Regions from separate parts of the Homo sapiens genome. Here region 1 is linked to region 2. Evidence: promoter capture Hi-C in 16 types of primary human blood cells and fetal thymus (Javierre and others, 2016). All regions are on one chromosome and are shown on one strand. Each heading gives the region's core, a stretch centred on a gene start or on the middle of the fragment in contact. The rest is flanking DNA. Distances are from core to core; before and after follow the strand shown. Region 1 overlaps SLIT1 (slit guidance ligand 1). Region 2 holds the start of SLIT1 (slit guidance ligand 1).

Region 1 (3,840 bases), core at 853-3,352, 130 kb before region 2:
CACATAACCTCTCTCAGTCTTTGTTTTAGGTAAAATCAGGATGATAAAGCACCTACCTTCATAGCATCACTGTAAGTATTAAGATAATACATGCAAAGAACAGTGGCTCACATGAGTCTCTCATTCCCATTCCCCATCCCCAAGGTTTTCCTGTGTGTGAGTCCCCGGCCAGTAAATCTCCTTAGCATGTTTCTCTCAGACATTCTGCCAGCTGCTTAAAATAGTCCACCTTGCCAGTGTCTCCCTGTACCCTCTAATTTCACATACTTGGCAAGGTTTCCCCATGGGGCTTCCTCTTTGTCTCCCTGGCTATAAGTAAATTAATTGGGAGGAGTTGGGCTGCAGGCAAATTTGTGGGCTTTAATGAGTTTGTCTTTGTGGCTGACATCTCTGGTGATGTGCAGAGTCCCCAGGGGTCACGAGCTGTACCTTTTACTCAGCCTGTTTGGAACCTATCCCAATACCCCATGTAGATGTTATCTGATGAAGAGCACTGCCTGGCATAGACAGGGGCAGGGATTACAGCGACAACAATGGACACAATAATATTAATAATTAATGCTCATTAAATGCACACCACAGAACCCACAAGTCAGCACATCCTGCCTAACTGCAGGCTCAGAATTAAAGATGTAGATGAAGGGGACCATTTAATTGCCTAAGTTTAACCACACAACAGATGAGAATTTTCCTTACGTGGAAACATTCCAGTTAAATATAAGGATTCTGTTTTAAAGCATAGTCACAACTGCATTAGAAATGAAAAAAGAATGTTAGAATTCTGATATGGTTTGGATGTTCGTCCCCACCAAACCTCATGTTGAAATGTAATCCCCAGTGTTGGAGGCGGGGCCTGATGGGAGGTGTTCGGATCGGTGTTCGGTGTTTGGTCGAATTTGTATCAGTCTGCTTTTGTGTTTCTATAAAGGAATACCTGAGACTAGGTAATTTATAAAGAAAAGAGGTTTACTGGGCTGAGAGTTCTGTGGGCTGGACGAGTATGGCACCAACAACCGCTCGGCTTCTGGTGAGCCTCAGGAAGCTTACAATCGTGGCAGAAGGCGAAGCAAGACTAGGCATAAGAGTGGATCCCTCATGAATGGCTTGGTGCTGCCCTTGTGATAATGAGTGAGTTCTTACTCTGAGCTCATGCAAGATCTGATTATTTAAAAGAGCATGGCACTCCCCCTCCCTCTCTTGCTCCTCCTCTTGTCACGTGACGTGCCTACCCTTGCTTCGCCTTCTGCCATGATTGTAAGCTTCCTGAGGCCTCACCAGAAGCCAAGCAGATGTTGGTGCCGTATGTGTACACCCCATGGAACTGTCAGCCAAGTAAACCTCTTTTCTTTATAGATTACCTAGTCTCTGGTATTCCTTGATAGTAACACAAAAACAGACTGATACAAATTCAAAATCACCATTTCAGGATTGCTAATGAATTAATGGGTTCAAGCACTGAGATCAATGGCTGTTTTTATTACAAAAGGGAGACAGCCAGACATCTGTCTGCCTTCTGACGGGAAGTCCACAATCCCATCTATAAAATCATCTTGCCAAATAAATCAATCAAAACTGAACCTGACCGAGCTCCTAGATCCAATTTTCAATCTGCAGGATACAGAGAAGACAGAGGAACATGTGAAACTACACCACAGGGAAGCAATCAACAAAGTCTAGACCCTACAGAACCAATGATGCAGTGTCTTCAACAAATCAGTTACAAGGAAAAGAGAAATGGAGAGGACACATAGATAAACAGCAACTTAAGAGGTACATCAACCAACATAAACCAACATCAGCCAGTTATATTGCACAGGCTTTATTTAAATCCTGATTCAAACTATTAAAAAATTGCATAACATTCCGGGCGTGGTGGCTAACATCTGTAATCCCAGCACTTTGGGAGGCCGAGGCAGGTGGATCACGAGGTCAGGAGTTTGAGACCAGTCTGGCCAACATGGTGAAACCCCATCTCCATTAAAGATACAAAAAATTAGCCAGGCGTGGTGACGGGCGCCTGTAATCCCAGCTACTTCAGAGGCTGAGGCAGGAGAATCACTTGAACCTGGGAGGTGGAGGTTGCAGTGAGCTGAGACTGTGCCATTGCACTCCAGCCTAGGTGACAGAGCGACACTCCAGCTCAAAAAACAAAAAACAATCAAAAAAATTGCATAACATGTAAGAGACACTTGGAAATTTCAACACTAACTAGATACTCAATGATATTAAGGAATTAATTATACAGGATTGGAAGCTGGGTGATGAAAACTTGGGGGTTCACCATACATAGCACTCTGTTTTTTTTTGAAACAGGGTCTCTCCGTTGCCCAGGTGGGAGTGCAGGGGGTGTGGCCACATGTCACTGTAGCCTGAACCTCCTGGGCTCAAGCAATCATCCTACTTTAGCCTCCCAGGTAGCTGGGACTACAGGTATGTGCCATCATACCTGGCTACTTTTTAAAAAAAAATTTCTTGTGGAGATGGGGTGCCCAGCCCTGTTACCTAGGCTGGTATTGAACTCCTGGGCTCAAGCAATCCTCCTGCCTCAGCCTCCCAGAGTGTTGGGATTAGAGGCATGAGCCACCATGCCCGGCCCACAGTACTACTCTTAATCTGCTTATAATTTTCCACAATAAAATATTACAACAAATTACCAGATTTATTGCTCTCTAATTTTTTTATTCACAGTCACCATTGTCATTACCGTATTTCATCTGATTTGACATTATGAATTGTAAGAGGCACTACTATTTTTTGTACTATCAATAAAGAACAAAATGCTGCCAACTAAGTGATGTACCACTGATTATAACATGCATCCCAGTTTCAGAGCTGTTAACGTGGAAACAACATGTGTCTTAGAATCAGCGCGATATATTATCATCATCATCACCATCAATATTATTGTTAGCTAAAGGCAGCATTTATCAAGCACTTGTGATGAGCTAAGCTTCATACAAACATCCTCCTTAATCTCATAACAACCCTATGGGAAGGCATCCCCATCTTACGGATAAATAAAAATGAGGCCCAGAGAAGCTGCCCAGAATCACACAGCCAATAAGAGGCCTAGGTGGACTTTGAACCTAGGACGGTCTAACCCAGGTCTGTGTCCTTCCTCTGTAAGAGGCCACCCCCAGTGAGCACAGCAGCCCAGAGCCGGAGAGCTGCCTGTCCCTGGAGGCTGCAACCTCCCCCAGGCCCACCTGCTGGGAGGGGAGAAGAAGAAGGCATCAGGGCACTCACAGAGTCTGGATGGCCCGCAGGGAGGTGAAAGTGCCCTTGGCGAGGCTCTGGATCTTGTTGTCATACAGGGAGAGCAGTGAGAGGTTCTGCAGGTCCTGGAAGGCATCGGGCCGGATGCAGTTGATCTTGTTGGCATTCAGGAGCCTGTGGGCAGAGCCAGGACCAAGTGGTGAGGAGAGAGGCTCGACCTGAGACCCATCTCAGGTCCTGGGCACCTTCTTCAGTCCCGGCCTGCGTTATTACAGGGAGGAGCCCATCGGAGCAGGCCCAGGGAATCTGCCCTCTGGATGTCTGCCCCACGGAGAGGGGCCCGGAACTCCGACTGCCTCCTCCATGCATAGGGACATCTTGGTCAACCCACTCGTCTCTCTTTCCAAGAACTGCTAGAGATGCCCTGTGGGATTCCGGGAAAGCAGAGAGCCACCTTGTGAAGGCATTTTTGGGGGGGGCTCCTCCTCCTTCCCAGAGGTCCATTGGGTTCCCCAGGCAGCTGAGTTGGAGCATTTGTGTTCTATGCCTCTTGAGCCCTGGGAGACAATCCCTGCCTGAAAGTTCATGGTTCAAGGAGGCCGAGCTGGCCTGGGTGTCCCCCCT
Region 2 (4,094 bases), core at 1,005-3,504:
GATGACTTTAAGACTCAAGATTCAAAAGCAAAGAAGAAGGGCTAATGTGTCTTAGATCTAGGCTGCAACCAGGGTAGCAGCTTCAGGAGAAACTCCAGTGGACAAGGCAAGGGGAGCAGGGAGCAGGTACAGAGGGGACAGGCATGGAGGGTGACCAGGCCACTGCGGGGGTCCTCTGGACAGATTTCTGACCCTCAGATCCTCTCTGGGTCCACACAGGATAATGCACACGCTGCCCACAGAAACTCAGTTTGGTACCACCTCTCCCCAGCCCTGTAACACACAAGCATTCACACACACACATACACATGCACCACACACACACACACACACACACACACACACACACACACACTTCCCATCTAGATTGCATCTAGATTGCAAATTCTCTAAAACCTCCACGGGAATTTTTCAGATGCAGCCAAGAAGAGTCTGGGGCAAATGTGTGCTCACTAATTGCTGGCCTTGGTACAGAGTCTGATTCGGGAGACAGCTCTCCTCAGGGTCAGATTTCTGTCTCTGACCAGCTGGGGGCCATGAAAATGTGCTCGAAAGTTATCAAAATATGCACACCTTTCCTGAGAGCCACTGCAGTCACCGAGGAGTGTGGGAAGGAGGAGTAGGTAGGTTTCAAAGGAGCCAGCAGCCTTCTCCAAAGCCCTGTTCAAAAATCTCCTGGTGTAGTCACCTCTGCGAGCAGTACAAAGGCCCTGCATGTGACCAAAATCTACACACACACAGCCCATTACGGGGACTCTCATGGCCTCACGCTATTAAGGTGGCCCCTTAATACTAGGAATTCACACAGAAACACATTCTGCAGGAGAGTCACAGAAAACAAAGTATAAAGGTCTGTAAATACACACACTCAAACACACCCAAACACACACACACACATTCTACTAGCTTACTGGGTCTAGAAAAGAAAAGGATCAAGTTTCCTCAAGAATTCACAAGTGAGACAGAACAGGGGAAGAGAAATGCTATTTTTTTATTACTTGTCATGGTCAATATCTTTAACCTTGGGCCCCCCTCTCCAAGCTCCTGACTTCTTGGCATTATCCACCGGGTTCTCCATCCAAGACACACCTGCCCCTTTTCGGGTGCTGAATGTTACATACCCCAAGCCCCATACCCAAAGCCCTCAGGTCCCATTGTCTGCCTGTGTTGGGGATGGCTGGGTGTGGAGGGAGGCGGGTGAGTAGGGGACCAACGCGTGGCACCTGCAGGGGAAGAATTCTCAAGGCTCTGGGGCAAACAATGGAGAAGAAGGGGCAGACCAGAAACTTCGCCTCCATCCCACCCTGCTGCCCTTCGTCAGGAGCAAGCTCTGGGAGCGGGAATCTGCGCAGCTGGCTCAGAACGCGGCCGTAGCCCCATGTGCCCAAAAGGAGACATTGTGCTTGGCGAGTGTGGGAAGTGTCCCTCCTGGGTGCAAGGAAGGCTTTCTGACACCAGTTCGCAGGCACCCTGGAGGAATAAAGCGCTGGCGCAGTGAGGAGGGCCTGAGGGTGCGGAGTGCAGGGTGCAGGGTGCAGGTGTGAGGACGGAAGCTGACAACCCCGCCGAGGGCCCTTTGAATCCCAGGGATGGGGAAACCACGGCGCTCCTGGCTCCTGGCTCGGGAAAGACCCCGGCAGGCACTGACCCGTCTGTGGGCTGCGGAGCCCGGACGGGCCCCAATGGTCCTGCCCCCACCCCCAAGTCCGGAATTGCGTCTGGGTGGGAGGGCAACCTCGGAGCCAGGGAGCCAGGGGCGGGGACCATACTCACAGGCGCTCGGTGTTCCGAGGTATATTCTTGGGAATGGCCTGCAGCCCCGTGCCGTGGCAGTCCACCGTGGTTCCGGTGCAGGTGCAGAGGGCGGGGCACGCCGAGGCACCCAGGCGCCACGCGGCTGCCCACAGCAGCAGCCAGAGCTCCGGCCGGACCGGCCCCGCCGAGGACCCCCACCCGGGAGTCAGCGCCATGGTGCCCTCACAGCGTCCCGCTCGCGAGCCAGACGGCAGCAGCCGCTGACCATCCCCGTCCGGGGCCGCCTCCAGGTGCAGTCCCGGGGCAGAGCCACCGAAGAGCCCGCGGGCTTGCGCGCGGCGCCCCTGCGGGCTGGGAGGCACCTTGCTCCTCCAAGCGACGGCGCCTGTGCGCGGACGGAGGGAGGGCGCCTTGGGCGGAGGGGGCTCGGCTCCTCTGCCGTTTCGCCGCCTGCGTCTCCCTCTCCCTCCCTCCAGCTCCCAACTGACTGCTGCGAGGAGGAAAATGGGCAGGCCCCGCGCGCGCACGCACCCTGCGCACACACCACACACACACACACGATCACACACACACCCGCGCGCTCGCTCCCACCCGGCAGTCATCCATCAATCGAAAAGCACACATCCAGGGCCAGGCTCCTCCCCGCCCTCCCCCGCCGCAGCCCCCCTCTCCCGACGACCACTCAGCGGCTGCAAGCCGCCTACAGTTTCAAAGGTGGAACCTCCGAGGCGCCGTCAGCGGGCACGGGGCTGCGGGGGATGGGAGAAGAGGGAAGGGGGTGTGACTCGACCCGCCAAGTCCTGGCTGTACACACACACACACACACACACACACACACACACACACACACACGGCGAGGATGCGCACATTTAGACGCACGCACCCCGGCACCCGCGGCCCCAGCTGCTAGTCCAGGGTGGGAGGGAGATCTTATTTTGCCGCTTGGACGCCTTCCCGGGGAGTCAGACCCGTTTCCCCCCATCCCCCGACGGCAGCAGCGGCCTCTCGGCCCCACCCGACTCGCTGTGTCAATTCTTGGTTAAGGGAAACCCTGTGCCTGTGCCCCAGGTAGCATCCTCAAGCCACCAACCTTACTTAGCCTGGACTTTGAGGATGGAGCTTTGTCGGGGGGGAGGGTCCACGAAAGCGCTAGGCGGAGTACAGTCTCCTTCCTACCTCAATGCACCCACTTCTCAGAGGGGAACAAGCTAGCCGCATGCCCAGGATGAGAATGGCTCTGATTGGAACACTTGCTCAGCAGGGCGTATTTGTACCATACAGTTACACGGGCTTCTTCCCCCGTTGTAGAAGAGAGGGACAGACATTAAGGGGACTTGGAAATCTGGCAAACGTCTTCCTCCACTCACACCAGCGTTCCTCCATTTCTGACAGGTGGAAACAGATGAAAATGAATATTCCATCTTGACATCAAAGGAGACAGAGAGGGCTGGCATAGCGCTGGGCGGCCTGCTTGGGAGAGAACCCCACAGGCCAGCCCCGTCAGACCCAGGCCTCACACCCGGCTGGGTAGGGACCTTCGTCACCGTAAGGCATGTGTGGACGTGGGTGTGAACGGGACATCCAGGTGGGGAGAGAATTCTCCTCAACCCCAGAAAAGACGAAAGATCTCCTCAACGCCAAGGACAGCTGTGGCTCGCTGGGGCAGTGTCCAGCAGTCGGGGCCTTGACGTGAGGCTGCTTGGCAAGAGGACACAGCTGGGTAGCCCGAGAAGCACCTCCCGTCTCAGGAGCGGCCTGGGTCCAGACACAGCATGGACGCATTTGGTGGGGAGAGTGTCGGGCAGGGTGGGGATAGGGGAGGTTGATAGACTCCACAAGGTTGAAGCCTTATCACCCACCAGGTACCCAAGGCTCAGGCGTTTTCTTTGCTTTTCTTTTCCATGTTGATGAGAATTTTGCAGTCTCTCTACTGTCATAGCACAGTATGTTACAATTTAGGTGGCTGATTTTATGGGCTTTTGACAGTTCTTTTAAAGTTTTCACACATCCCTGTCCATGACCTCCATCCGGTAAGTGGGTTCTTGAGCATAAGTTCAGTTTCTCAGGGGGCAGGGCTTTCTCAGGGGTGCCTGTGTGGTGGGATATTAGGGAAGCTTCCCACAAACCAGGCCGGAGTCTGAGAGGGCTGCCCCTGCCCTGCAGCTCACCAGCTCCTGCTCCATGGGGCCCCAGCCCCTCTATCCATGCTCTCCCCGCAGCCTCAGAGTGACATTCCTCCATGCCCGCTGCTTTGTTTATCCCCTCTTAGTACCTGCAGCTGCTTCTCCACACCCCTGCCCACCCCCTGGCATCCTCACTCGCTCACCCAGACACACACC

The links. Contacts are between HindIII fragments. The CHiCAGO score rates a contact against its expected background, and 5 or more counts as called.
Region 1: a fragment that was not itself captured here is called in contact with the fragment with the promoter of SLIT1 in region 2 in 3 of 17 cell types (M1 macrophages, M0 macrophages and M2 macrophages); the score reaches 7.4 in M1 macrophages.

Annotation. Positions count from the first base shown.
Region 1 is chr10:97,053,075-97,056,914 of GRCh38, forward strand. It overlaps SLIT1 (slit guidance ligand 1), which reads right to left. Exons shown (of 37, transcript NM_003061.3): 13 at 3,247-3,390. Among named protein-coding and RNA genes, the nearest start is that of SLIT1-AS1, 48 kb to the right of the region's middle. The HindIII fragment of the contact is 1,691 bases long and covers 1,258-2,948 here.
Region 2 is chr10:97,183,705-97,187,798 of GRCh38, forward strand. It overlaps SLIT1 (slit guidance ligand 1), which reads right to left and starts at 2,255. Exons shown (of 37, transcript NM_003061.3): 1 at 1,774-2,255. The coding sequence starts at 1,970. All of the region lies in intron 11 of ARHGAP19-SLIT1 (ARHGAP19-SLIT1 readthrough (NMD candidate)), which reads right to left. RefSeq lists enhancers at 2,099-2,599, 2,600-3,100. The HindIII fragment of the contact is 4,998 bases long and covers 1-3,867 here.